Linked DNA regions of Homo sapiens: region 2 is linked to region 1. Evidence: promoter capture Hi-C in 16 types of primary human blood cells and fetal thymus (Javierre and others, 2016). All regions are on one chromosome and are shown on one strand. The core of a region is centred on a gene start or on the middle of the fragment in contact, and the rest is flanking DNA. Distances in the headings are between cores, read along the strand shown.

Region 1 (6,833 bases), core at 1,237-3,736:
GTTGGTCTTGAATTCTTGGGCTCAATCAATCCTCCCATTTTGGCCTCCCAAAGTGCTGGGATTACAGGCATGAGCCACTGTGCCTCGCTGCTTTTTGTCTTTTTGTATTAACAGAAAAGGTCTCACTATGCTGTCCAGGCTGGAGTGCAGTGGCTATTCACAGGCATAATCGTAGCTCACTGCAGCCTTGAACTCCTGGACTCAAGCAGCCTTTCTGCCTCAGCTCCTCAAGTAGATGGGATTACAGTCTCGTACCACCACACCCAGCTTAAAATGATATTTATTGTATTTTATCTGGCATTTCTGGGTGTTTTTTTTTGGTATACTTATTCATGCCACAAAGTAAGTGGTACTTATATAAGTGTACAGTGATTTTCCAGGTTCCTTTCTAACATAGCTTGCTTAAATTCACAGGTCGACTAATGTTTCATTTCATGTGCATGCTAAGTGAAGCTGGTTAGTGATGACCATAAGCAGGTGGAGAAGCTTTCAATATTTTACTTATTTTATCAGTACTCCTGATTTTATAAATGATGAGGCTCATTAACCCCATTCCTACTCAAATCTCCTGATAAACTTGGTTATAATAGGGCTTCATGGGGATCCAAACATTTTTAATAATGTTTTGAAGCATCTTGGTGTGGGACAAACAGCTCAGGCTACCCCAGAGCCCCACATCCAATGACTTAGAAAAGTCTGTGTTTTATAGTGGGAAAAGTTTGGATTATTTAGTCCTTCACATTGGAAAGGGAAGTGTTTTTTCTCAGTCTTTTCGGTATTAACAAATACCTTTTATATTACTATCTATCCCCTCTGCCCTCTATGGACTCTTATTTTGAAAGCAATATCCAGTGGACAGCCAGGATTTGTTACATAACAATTAATCTTGACCTTAGGACTTGTTGTTCTATTAGGTTGGTAACTTTGTCTGATCCACCAATCATATTGCTGTCTTGTCAGTCCATCAGTTTCAAGAAACAACTGTACATGTCAGTGCCCTGATTTGTGTTTGTTTTTCTTTTTTTTTTTTTTTTGTTTCGTTTTGGTTTTTTAGAGACGTGGTCTTGGTATGTTGCCCAGGCTGGAGTGCAGTGGCTATTCAGAGGTGTAATCATAGCACATTTGTAGCCTTGAATTCCCAGGCTCAAGTGATCTTTCTGCCGAAGCCTCCTGAGCAGATGGGAGGCGTGCATCACTGAGCGCAGCAATTTTACTAAGTTGGTCTAGTCCTAGCTCAGTAGTTCTTTACTTAGCACAGAGGGGGCTTCTTAGAATCTCCTAAACTTGATCTTAGCCAAATGGCCAAGAAGCAATCCTTAGAATCTTCTAGGAGAGCCTTTCTAAATGCTGATACTGCAAACCGAAAAGTATATGAAACGGATCTCAATTAATTTAGAAGTTAATTTTGCCAAGTTTAAGGACGTGCATCATCTTTGGAGACAGGTCCGTGCCTTTCTCCAAAGATGATTTTGAGGGCTTCAGTTTTTATAGGGGAAGGGGCAGATATTGGGGAAAGATGAATAAATTTTAAAAAGATGTGGGTAGATAAGAGGCAAACGGTTGCATTCTTCTGAGTCTTTGATCAACCTTCACATGTGAGGGGGGTAGAGAAATAGTCACTTATGCATTCATCTAGCTCAATGAATCTGCATTTTTACATAAGATAAAATAAACCGGGGAGCCGGGCGCGGTGGCTCACGCCTGTAATCCCAGCACTTTGGGAGGCCAAGGTGGGTAGATCACCTAAGGTCAGGAGTTCCAGACCAGCCTGGCCAACATGGCGAAACCCCATCTCTACTAAAAATACAAAAATTAGCGGGGCGTGGTGGCGCGCGCCTGTAATCCCAGATACTCGGGAGGCTGAGGCAGGAGGATTGCTTGAACCTGGGAGGCGGAGGCTGCAGTGAGCCGAGTTCGCGGCATTGCACTCCAGCCTGGGCGACAGAGCGAGACTCCGGTCTCCAATAAACATGGAAGGCTGTTTCTCCCCGGTTTGCTGGAATAAAGTCTCTGTCTTCCAAATTCCTTTTCGGAGAACTTTTGTTCACAAGATTAAAAAGGTCACGCAGCTGGTGACGGAGCCTGGGTTTTTTGATTTAGACATTGTATCCATGTGTGAGATCCTGCCCATCCCCGCTTTCTTGGTGTCCTGTGAGTTTAAATTCATGAATTCACTCTCAACTGCCACCGCTAACAGGACACAGGCCAATTCCAACACGAACCCCAACGGCTCTCCTCAGGGTCACCTTTCATGAGTCCGCTTTCCGGCCAACCCCTCCTCTCAGTCTTAGGCCCCACTGCAAGCCTACTCCCGCTCACCGTACAGAACCTAAGCACAGGATCAGAGATGGGGACAGGTTGACTCAGTCCCATGCCCAAGTCCGCAAATTAGGGATTCGGCTGCCTAAGGGCTAGAGAACGCTCCCCGCCCCACAGGACGCGCCCCACCCCGCCCCCTCCTCCTGCCCCTACGCACGCGCACTCTCACGCGCCTGTGTTGCCGCCCGCGGCCCTGGCTTCGGGCTTCAGGGAGCTCTGGTGCAGTCTCCGCCTGTCAGTGCCGGCAGTCGTCCGCGGCGCCCGCCCCGGTCCCGCACTGGTGCAGCCATGTCCTCTTCCCCGTGGGAGCCTGCGACCCTGCGCCGGGTGTTCGTGGTGGGGGTTGGCATGACCAAGGTAAACCGAGCAGCGGCCCTGCTGGCCCTCTGAGGCTCGGGGGCGGTCGGTGCCTGGGTTTCTCTGTCCCTCCGGTCTCCTAGCTTCGACTGCTCCGCGCGTGGGTCATCGGCGTGGCGACTTGGTGGCTTGTACTCTGCGGAATCTCTGGGGTCATAGCGTCTCGGGCTGGTTCCTGCGGCCTTCTGCTTCCTCCTTCCCTTTTCTTCTGGTCAGAGTTCATGAAGCAGCCCCGAGATAATCCAAGGATCTCACCTCTTTAGATTCTGAGCGGAGTCCCGAGGTGTGTGGGCTGGCTTGCCCCGGAGGGAGGCAGGTCGCGAATGCCGCCTGCTCGGCCCTCCCAGGAACAGCCCCCACAGGAGCCCTCACAGAGACAGCTCCAGATGTGGATGGCGAGGAGAAACGCTCCTGATGCCCAGCGCCTCGGCCCGAGTGGCAGATTCCGGCCTCCCTCTGTCCCTCCAGTGACTGCTTGGGACCCGGACGCCGCAGGCTCCCACGGCCGTTTTCCCCTCATCGCCCGCATGCTCCTTAATGCCAAACTGCCTTTCGTTTCTCCCCGGACGCAGTTGTCTGATGCCTCTGTTGCTTTGCTTCTGTTCTGTTTGTACCGTGTATCTTCACCTGTTAACTTTTGTGCATCCTGAAAGGATCCGTTCAGATCGGATCTTCTCCAGGACGCCTCGGATCCTCCTGACTTTCCCCTAGAGCCTTGCACTGTGCTTACCTCTGTCCTGCACTTACTGTGCTCGGCAGTACCGGGCAGTACTAAAGCTCATAGGCGTCTGCGCGCCCTCTTAGCATGGCAGCTCCTCTAGACTGGGTACCTGGCTTATTCACTGCTGTGCCCCTCGCCCTGAACGTTCCTGATGCTTGAAGACCCTCAGTGAATGTTAGTTGAACAATACTAAATGGATATGCTTTGTGAAAGAGTTCCTAGGGAGAGTTCTATTTCTGAGAAAACAGCCCTAAAATGTTTATTATTTTACCAGTGGGCTGAGCGTACCTAATTCAGTCCAACATGTAAATAGGCCGGGGCCGGTGGCTCACGCCTGTAATCCCAGCACTTTGGGAGGCCAAGGCGGGTGGATCACCTGAGGTCAAGAGTTCGAGACCAGCCTGGCCAACATGGTGAAACCCCGTCTCTACTAAAAATACGAAAATTAGTCGGGCATGGTAGCACACGCCAGCTACTCGGGAGGCTGAGGTGGGAGGATTGCTTGAGCCTGGGAGATGGAGGTTGCAGTGAGCTGAGATCACGCAACTGCACCCCCAGCCTGGGCCATAGAGTCAGTCCTTGTCTCAACAAAAACAAAAAATATCCATGGAAATGGAAAAGTGGACCAATACCTTATGAAGCGGAAGGACATCATCCTAGTGTTTCACAGAAGGGGAGGCTTCTAACACAGGTGGACAGTAGGATCTTTCGAAGTAAGGTATTAATGCAGTCAAACCTTCCTCTGGCTGCTGAATGCCTGATTATATGTGCTGTATGGAAAAGCACAGTTGTCTAAACCTTTGGGAAATAGATGTATTCCTTTTTCCTCAAGTTGGGAGGTAGAGGTCGGGGAGGTGTTACAGTCCAGAGGAAAGTGGTGAGGAGTTTGGGTAGTGCCATTAATGATGTGCCTATCTGGCCAGTGTACTTTGCTATAGGTCTGGTCTTCTGCACCTTGGGACAGAGTTTGATGGAGGAGGGAGAAATATTGACTAGACAACACTGTAACACTTTTTTTTTTTTTTTTGGAAGACGGAGTTTTGCTCTGTCAACCAGATGGGAAGGCAGTGGTGCAATCATAGCTCACTGCAGCCTTGAACTCCTGGACTCTAGCGATCCTACCGAGTAGCTAGGACTACAGGCATTCTACCATACCTGGCTAATTAAAAAAAAATTTTTTTTGTAGAGACAGGGTCTCACTACTTACTACTAGATGGGTCTCATTTCTACCATATATTACTGTTATAATTTATCATAATACTTTATTTTTATTTTTTGAGACAGAGTCTCACTCTGTCCCCCAGTCTGGAGTGCAGTGGGGCGATCTCAGCTCACTGCAACCTCTGCCTCCCAGGTTCAAGTGATTCTTCTGCTCAGCCTCCCAAGTAGGTGGGATTACAGGTGTGTGCCACCATGCCCAGCTACTTTTTGTATTTTTATTTATTTTATTTTTTGACACAGATTCTTGCTCTGTCGCCCAGGCTGGAATGCAGTGGCGCGATCTTGGCTCACTGCAAGCTCCGCCTCCTGGATTCACGCCATTCTCCTGCCTCAGCCTCCCGAGTAGCTGGGACTACAGGTGCCCACCACCACGTCCGGCTAATTTTTTGTATTTTTTAGTAGAGATGGGGTTTCACCGTGTTAGCCAGGATGGTCTTAACCTCCAGATCTCGTGATCCACCCGCCTCGGACTCCCAAAGTGCTGGGATTACAGGCGTGAGCCACCGCACCTGGCCGTCAACAGGTTTTAACACAACTAAGTCACAGCTGCCGTCTGGCTGACAGCAAGCCTCTTCACTTATGCTGCCTATCTCCTGATATACCCTCTTTTCATCTACTTAAATTCTACTTATCTTTCAAGAACTAGGCTAAGTCCCATACCTTCTTAAAACTTCCTCAGACTACTCTAAGTTACACTGGTCACCTTTTTTGAAATTCTGGTGACCTTATAGTCAGAACATGTAATTTAGCACTTCAGTTTTCTAGTACTTTTATGTATGGTAATTTCATGAAATACATCTTACATCACAATCCAGTACACACATACAAAACTTATTTGTAACAACTGAAACAATTTGTTAAAGCAACGCTTATTACATGTGATGAACTCTTGGTATCCCTAAAGTATATCTTAAAAAAAAAAAAAATTGCTGCTTGGCTGGATGTGGTAGCTCATGCCTGAAATCTCAGTACTTTAGGAGGCTGAGGTGGGTGTATCTCTTGAGCCCAGGGTTTGAGAACAGCCTGGGCGATATTGGCAAAACCCCTTCTCTACTAAAAATAAGAAAAATTAGCTGGGCTTAGTGGCGCACACCTATAGTCCCAACCACTCGGGAGGCTTATCTGGGAGGATCACCTGAGCCTGGGAGGTTGAGGCTGCAGTGAGTCCTGTTTGAGCCACCACACTCCAGCCTGGGTAATGGGAGTGAGACTCTGTCTCAAAAAAAAAGTGCTGCTCACAACCTGCTAAATTGATTTGGTCATAATCTAATAAGTTCAAATTTCAGTTTGAAAAATATTACATTATTTAATTCTCACCACGTAATGGATTTTTATATCCATTCAATTATCTGACTCTGAGGCTCAGAGGGGCTAAGTACTTTATTTTGGTGCAGCTTTTAAGTTTTGGAACTGCCTTTCTTAAAATCTTGTGCTCTTTCCATGCCATCTCTACTGTATATTACTGTTATAATTTATCATTGAAACATATATTCAGTAAATATTCTATGGGTTATATGCTAGAGATGCAAAAATGAAAAAAACAAAGTTCCTGTTTTAAAGGAATGTCTAATCTGGAGGAGAAAAGAATAAACAAGTAGTTTAAATAAGATTATTTGAGATATTTGATTAAACATGGCAGATTGAGTACATGAATTTATCTCTGTTGGTGCTTTCCATATCCCACTAAAGCAACAATAAGGAAAGAAAATGATATTAATCCACAAGGGCAAAGTGAGTAGGAAAGGAAACAATAGCTGAGATATATCGGAAGATTTTTGGAAGATTCTGAAGTTGATGGAGAAGTGGTCACTGACTCAGAGCAGAGAGACCACTACCTAAGTTCCTGAAGAGGGGTTATACTGGTTGAGCCTCCCAGCAGAACTCCAGAAGGCCCAAAACTTGGATATACTAGGTGCCAGGTAGGGTGGGAAAGAAGAAAAAGACTATTCTAAGGAACAGTTAGGTCCCAAGATCTCTTTTACCACCAGGTGACTTTACCTTTTCTTAGCAGAGTATTGGAGACTTTTTCTCTGGGGAAACTGAACAGATGAAGAGGCTCTAGAATCATCTGAGCTGTTAGGCCCAAGTTGAAAAAAAGGGAATTAAATTGAATTCTGCATGCTAAAGGGTAGTACTTCCCAGCTGTGAGAAGCAACACTGGTAGTCACACATATACTACCTTCCTGGCAGAGATTTGGAAAATTATTTGGAATGG
Region 2 (6,833 bases), core at 2,870-5,369, 230 kb after region 1:
AGTAGCTAGGACTACAGGCACATGCCACCATGCCCAGCTAATTTTTTTTTTTTTTTGGTAGAGGCTGAATCTCACTATGTTGCCCAGGCTGGTCTCCAACTCCTGGCCCCAAGCAATCCTCATGCCTTGGCTTCCCACAGTGCTGGGATTACAGGTGTGAGCCACTCTGCCTGGCCTATTTACACTTTTTTTTTTTCTTTTTAACCCAACTACTCAACGTGGCATATTTTCACTTTTAATATAATTTATATATACCTGGGGAAGCTCTTTTTGATATTATCAGTAGAGGCCACTAAAAATAATGCCAGAATTCCAGTGAGAAGAGAGTAGAAATGGAAAGAAAATGGGAGGATAAAGAAATTGGGTAGTAATAAGAAACAGGATTTTTAAGGTTTTCTCACTAGTTAACTAATGCCACAAAATTGCGTATTTTGGCTCAATGTCAGTGGGCTGCTGGAAGGGACCAGGAAATGAGTGCAATATCCTAACCATCCCAGGTAGATTCTTAACTAACCCATGATTTGGATGGCTCACTTGTGAAGGGAGTGCTTTGGCCTCCTCGCTTCCTTTCTTCCTTTTCCTTTTTTTATTTTTTTTTTTTGAGACTGAGTCTAGCTCTTGTTTCCGAGCAATTTTTGAGAAATCTCAACTTTAAAATATCCCTCAAGTTGCCCCCTTTCATTAGTCTTGTAAATAATATTGTTTAAGACTCACACATTGGTGAGAGTCAGGAATTATTAGGATTATTTTAATAGCAGACATTGAGTTCATTTACTTGGAAAGAAAAATTTTATTCCGAGGTGACTTTCAGAGATTTAAGTGCTCTATTTTACCATTGAATGAGAATTTTTCTCAAAGCAAATATTCTCTAAGATGCTAGAGTATTCAGCTTATTGGGATAGTACCCTTTAACTTATTAAAAGTTACAAAGTCTAAGAAAAAGCATGCAAGTCTTGAGAATCACTGCTGTGAATTCTAACAGGGAGGGCCTGAAGCCTGGAAGCCTGGCTGACAGTCCTGCAGACCAGAGTGGGGACTTGTGGTGCCTCTTCCAGTCTGCCCATGGCCGCCCATAGACCATTTGGCATGTACTTCCTCCCCTCTGAGGTCCATAAAAGCCCTGGGATCAGCCAGAGAAGGGCAGAGGATGGAGAGGACAGAGAGATGACTGGCGACTGGATGATCAGCTGCAGAGAGGAGCTGAAAGCTCCTGCTGAAAGCTGGGAAGCCAACCGGGACCTGCCTTCAGAGAGCAGCCACCCTCTCCAGGGCCTCCTGTCTGCTGAGAGCTGAACGCTGGATGAGACAACCTGCCTACAGAGAGGAGCTGCCCGCTGAGGGTCTCCTCTGAACTGTCCTAACACTCAACAAAGCTTCTCTTCGTCTTGCTCGCCCTTCATTGTCTGAGTACCTTATTCTTCCTGGATGCAGGACAAGAACTCGGGCAAAGGCACCACTGCCCACAGAAGTTTCTGGCCAGAAAAGTGACACCCCAAAGATCCCGTAACACTATGAGATGCAAAGACTACAAATGTTTAAGTGGAATGATCTCTAACCTGTAAATTACACTCCTGTAACAAGCAAATGATTACATACTGTGGAAGACTACAGAACATAAGTACAGAAAGCTGCTCTCCAAGGCTGCATTCTCAAAGCTTGAAAAGTTAATTGGCCCATCATTTTGGTACAGTAGGTAGCTAGTCAAGCATGAGCAGGGCAGGAGAGGGCTCCCTATACCTCACCACAAATGTCAGGCAACCATCAGGTGATGGTCAGGTGGTTGTTAACTGTCTGTTTAAAATAATAATTGGTTGCAGCTGGTGCCAGGGAAAGGCCGTCTCCCAGTAGATAGAAACACCTGAAACAGGTGGTCAGCTGCTTAATCTCAGGAGTTGGGCAACTGGGCTCAAGCATGCTCACTAAGAGGCAAAATGGTGAGTTTAACTGATACATGACTTTCCAGGGACATTCGGCTGGTAAGGGAAGAATGCCTCAAGTGAGCATGCATACAACTCCAGTGAACACACTGTGCACACTCCCCTCCCAAGGGCTGGCAGGTCACTGTGCACACGGACAGCCCAAGGGAAGAATCAGGGGAGAAGGGACGCAAGGCATGCCAACATGTACAACCCCAAGTCAAAGGTGAAATGGCACACTTGATCACTCAAGTTGCCCAGGTGGCTCTTTCCCAAGTGTACTTTACTTCCTTTCATTCCTGCCCTAAAGCTTTTTAATAAACCTTCACTCCTGCTCTAAAACTTGCCTCAGTCTCTCCCTCTGCCTCGTGCCCCTCGGTCAAATTCTTTCCTCTGAGGACGCAAGAATTGAGGTTGCTACAGACCTGTACAGATTCGCCGTCACTAATAATTTTAGAAAGAAAAAAAGATGAACATGGATTAGGAGGGTCTACATGTGGGAAAAAAATTGCAACTAAGATATTTTAGAGAGCCCACCTCTAGTAACAAAAGAAAAAATAGGCCCGGCACGGTGGCTCACACCTGTAATCCCAGCACTTTGGGAGGCCGAGGCAGGTGGATCCTGAGGCCTCCCCAGAAGCAGATGCTGCCATGCTCCCTGTACAGCCTGCAGAACTGTGAGCCAATTAAACATCTTTTCCTTGTAAATTACCCAGTCTCAGGTATTTCTTCATAGCAGTGAGAGAACAGCTAATACGGTAGCCATCTCTGGGGGGACATCGAGGAGGCTCTCATTCTCCTAGAAGTCTTTCCAATTCATATTATCCTCAGACCATAGTTCATCTCTTCTGTAAGCCACAACTCTGGGCCACCAGGAAACCCAGTACATGTAGTTGTCTGCTTGCCACCGCTCAATTTTTTATTTTTATGCATTATGTATAACTATGTATGTTTCGTAACTTCCCAACATAGGCTTTCCTAATTATCTTTTTGTTCCTTTTATAAACAAGCTTTATTGAGGTATGATTTACATACTGTATAATTTACCCAAAGTGCACACTTCAATCGTTTTTAGTAGGTTTACTGAGTTGTGCAATCATCATGACAGTCCCATTTTAGAACACTTCCACATCCCCAAGAGCCCCTCATGCCCACTTTTAGCCAATCCCCATTCCCATCTCCAACACCAGGCAATCACTAATATGCTTTCCATCTCCATAGATTTGCCTCTTCTGGACATTTTATAAAAATGCAGTCATACAATCTGGGTTCTTTTTTTTCTCATTTTACTCTGCATATGTTCTAGGCTCATCCATGTTTGCAGCATGGATCAGTAGTTACTCCCTCTTACCATTGAATGGTAGGTACTACATTGTATGGATGTACCCCATTTTTTTTTCTACTCACTGATTGATGGACATTTGTACTCACATTTTGGCTTTTATGAATAATGCTGCTATGAACCTTCATGCAAAAGCTTTTCTGTAGACATGTTTCATTTATCTTGAGTAGCTACCTATGAGTCCCATTGCTAGGTTGCTGGATACATTTATGTTTACCTTTTTAAGAAACTGCCAAGCTGTTTTCCAAAGTTTCCGCACCATTTTACCTTCCTGCCACCAATGTATGAGGATTCTGATGTCTCCACAGTGTTGCCCACAGGTATTATTGTCTGTGTTCTTCATTACAGCTGTCCTAATGGCCATGAAGTGGTATCTCATTTTGGTTTTAATTTGCATATTACTAATGACTAATAATGTTGAGCATCTTTTCATGTGCTTATTAATCATTTATATATCTTCTTCAGTGAAGTGTTTACTCAAATCTCTTCCCTATTTTAAAAATTAGGGGCTGGGCGTGGTGGCTCATGCCTTGTAATCCCAACATTTTGGGAGGCCGAGGTGGGTGGATCACGAGGTCAGGAGATCGAGACCATCCTGGCTAACATGGTGAAACCCCATTTTTAATAAAAATACAAAAAATTAGCTGGGCATGGAGGCACGCAGCTGTAGTCCCAGCTACTCAGGAGGCTGAGGCAGGAGAATCGCTTGAACCCGGGAGGCAGAGGTTGCAGTGAGTCGGGATCGCGCCACTGCACTCCAGCCTGGGTGATAGAGCGAGACTCCATCTCAAAAAAAAAAAAATTGGGTTGTCTTCTTCTTACTGCGTTGTAAGAGTTCCATATATTCTGGATATGAAAGCCTTTTTGTTGTTGTTTGTTTTGTGTTTTTGTTTTTTGGAGACAGAGTCTCACTCTGTCACGCAGGCTGGAATGCCAGTCATATGATCATAGTTCACTGAGGCCTCAAATTAGTTCCTGGGCTCAAGCAATCCTCCTGCCTCAGCCTTCCAAGTAACTGGGACTACAGGTGCATGCCACCATGCTTGGCTAAAATCTTTATCAGTGGCCAGGCGCAGTGGTTCACATCTGTAATCCCACACTTTGGCAGGCCGAGACCAGCGGATCACCTGAGGTTAGAAGTTTGAGACCAGCCTGGCCAACATGGTGAAACCCCGTCTGTACTGAAAATGCAAAAATTAGCCAGGTGTGGTGGCAGGCGCATCTAATCCCAGCTACTCAGGACGCTGGGGCAGGAGAATCACTTGAACCTGGGAGGCAGAAGCTGCAGTGAGCGAAGACCATGCCACTGCACTTCAGCCTGGGCAACAGAGCAAGATTCCGTCTCAAAAAACTAAACTAAAATAAAATAAAAAACCTTTATCAGAATTATGATTTGCAAATATTTACTCCCAGCCTGTCGCTTATCTTTCTCATTTACTTAATAGTGACTTTGAAAGTATAAAAGTGTGTAATTTTTATTAACTCCAATTTATTGATTTTTTTCATTTATGAGTTATGCTTTTAATGTTGTATCTGAGAACTCTGCTTAACTGGAGATCACGAAGAGTTTCTCCTATGCTTTCTTCTAAAAGCTTTATAGTTTTATCACTTAAGTTTAGGTCTACAATCCATTTTGAATTAATTTTTGTGTGTTGTATAAGTTAAGGATCCAAATTCACCTTTGTGGTTGGGTGTGATGGCTCACACCTATAATCCTAGCACTTTGGGAGTTGAGGCAGGAAGATGGTTTGAAGTCAGGAGTTTGAGACCAGCCTGGCCAACATAGTAAGACCCCCATCTCTACAAAAAAATTTTCAAAATTTAGCCTGGTGTGGTTGTGCATGCTGGCAGTCCTAACTACTCAGGAGGCTGAAGCAGGAGAGTTCAAGAGTTCAAGGTCATAGTGAGCTATGATCATGCTTGCATTCCAGCGTGGGTGACAGAGTGAAACCTCATCTCAAGCAATCAATCAATCAGCTCATCTTTTTTATGAGGATAACCAATTGTTCCAGCACCATTATTGGAAAACCTTGTGTTATGGTTTGGATAGTTGTCCCCTCCAAATCTCATGTTTGAAATGTGATCCTGAGTGTTAGAGGTGGGCCTAGTGGGAGCAGTCTGGATCATGGGGATGGGCCGCTCATGAATGGCTTGGTGCCATCCTCGCAGTAGAGTGAGTTTTTGCTCTGTTAGTTCACTCAAGAGCTGGTTGGTTTTTGAAAGAGTCTGGTGCCTCCCTTCTTTCTCATTCTTTTGTGCTCTTTCTTGCCATGTGACACACCTGCTCCCCCTCACCTTCTGCCTGGAGTAACAGCTGCCTGAGGCTTCATCAGAAGCTGGGTGGATGCTGGAGCCATGCTTTTATAGCCTGCAGATCCATGAGCCAATTAAACCTTTTTTCTTTATAAATTGCCTAGTCTAAGGTATTCCTTTATAGCAGCACAAAATGGACTAATACACCTTGTTGATTTCTGATAACCCTATTGTGGTCAGAAAATGAGAATATATGATAGTAATCCTTTGAATAGACGTGCTTTATGATACTCAGTTTTCATAAATGCTCCACATGTGCTTGGAAAGACTGTGTATTTTGCAGATGAGTCCAGTGTTATATGCATATCCATTAGATTAAACTTGAGAATCCATTCGTTCAAATCTCCTGTATCTGTGCTCATTTTTTTTTTTTTTTGGTCTACTTGATCTATCAATTGATTGAAACATGTTAAAATCTACCATTCTGAGGCCGGGCACAGTGGCTCACGCCTGTAATCCCAGCACTTTGGGAGGCCGAGGTGGGCGGATCACCTGAGGTTAGAAGTTTGAGACCATCCTGGCTAACACGGTGAAACCCCGTCTCTACTAAAAATACAAAAACAAAATTAGCCGAGCATGGTGGCAGGCACCTGTAATCCCAGCTACTCGGGAGGCTGAGGCGGGAGAATGGCGTGAACTCGGGAGGTGGTGCTTGCAGCGAGCCAAGATCGCGCCACTGCACTCCAACCTGGGCGACAGAGCGAGACTCCGTCTCCAAAAAAAAAAAAGTGTTTGATTAGGTCACCTTCTCCATGATTCCTTCATTAGTAAGTTGTTCCCAGGAGTAATTTGTGAACACTGTGGGGACTTGGCCTCTGCCTTCTCAGAGCTTAGCGTTGAGCAGCAGATAGAAAATGTACCATCAACCTACTTACAAATCTGCAAATGGGCCTGCCTTCCAGAATTTCACTTGTAAATCCATGTTTAGTTATTAGAATAATTTATTCTTTTGGGGGATTAAAAAGTTATACACTCTTCTGTATATTGGATTCTTGGCCCCATTGATGGAAAAAACATTTCTTCCTTTATACATAATTATTTACAGCTACTTATGATGGGGTTGTGGCTCAGAAAATCCATCATGAAGTCAAAGAATGGTTAAGTCAAGCCAACCTATGTTGGGAACCACCTGTATAGTGATATATATTAATATTTATATTGAAAAATCATAGGAGAAAACATGTAGCTCAAAAAAAAATACTACTTTCTTTGTGCCTGACACAGAGTGGATACTACATAAATATATGTATACAAATATTATA

The links. Contacts are between HindIII fragments. The CHiCAGO score rates a contact against its expected background, and 5 or more counts as called.
Region 2: a contact is called between a fragment that was not itself captured here and the fragment with the promoter of SCP2 in region 1, in 1 of 17 cell types (endothelial precursors). The highest score is 5.1, in endothelial precursors.

The regions. Positions count from the first base shown.
Region 1 is chr1:52,924,790-52,931,622 of GRCh38, forward strand. SCP2 (sterol carrier protein 2) reads left to right here and starts at 2,487. Exons shown (of 16, transcript NM_002979.5): 1 at 2,487-2,676. The coding sequence starts at 2,608. It also overlaps the pseudogene LOC100652967. RefSeq lists a silencer at 2,250-2,529 and enhancers at 2,582-3,097, 2,750-2,809, 2,820-2,909. The HindIII fragment of the contact is 6,408 bases long and covers 485-6,833 here.
Region 2 is chr1:53,153,989-53,160,821 of GRCh38, forward strand. No RefSeq gene overlaps it. Among named protein-coding and RNA genes, the nearest start is that of SLC1A7, 15 kb to the left of the region's middle. The HindIII fragment of the contact is 1,457 bases long and covers 3,392-4,848 here.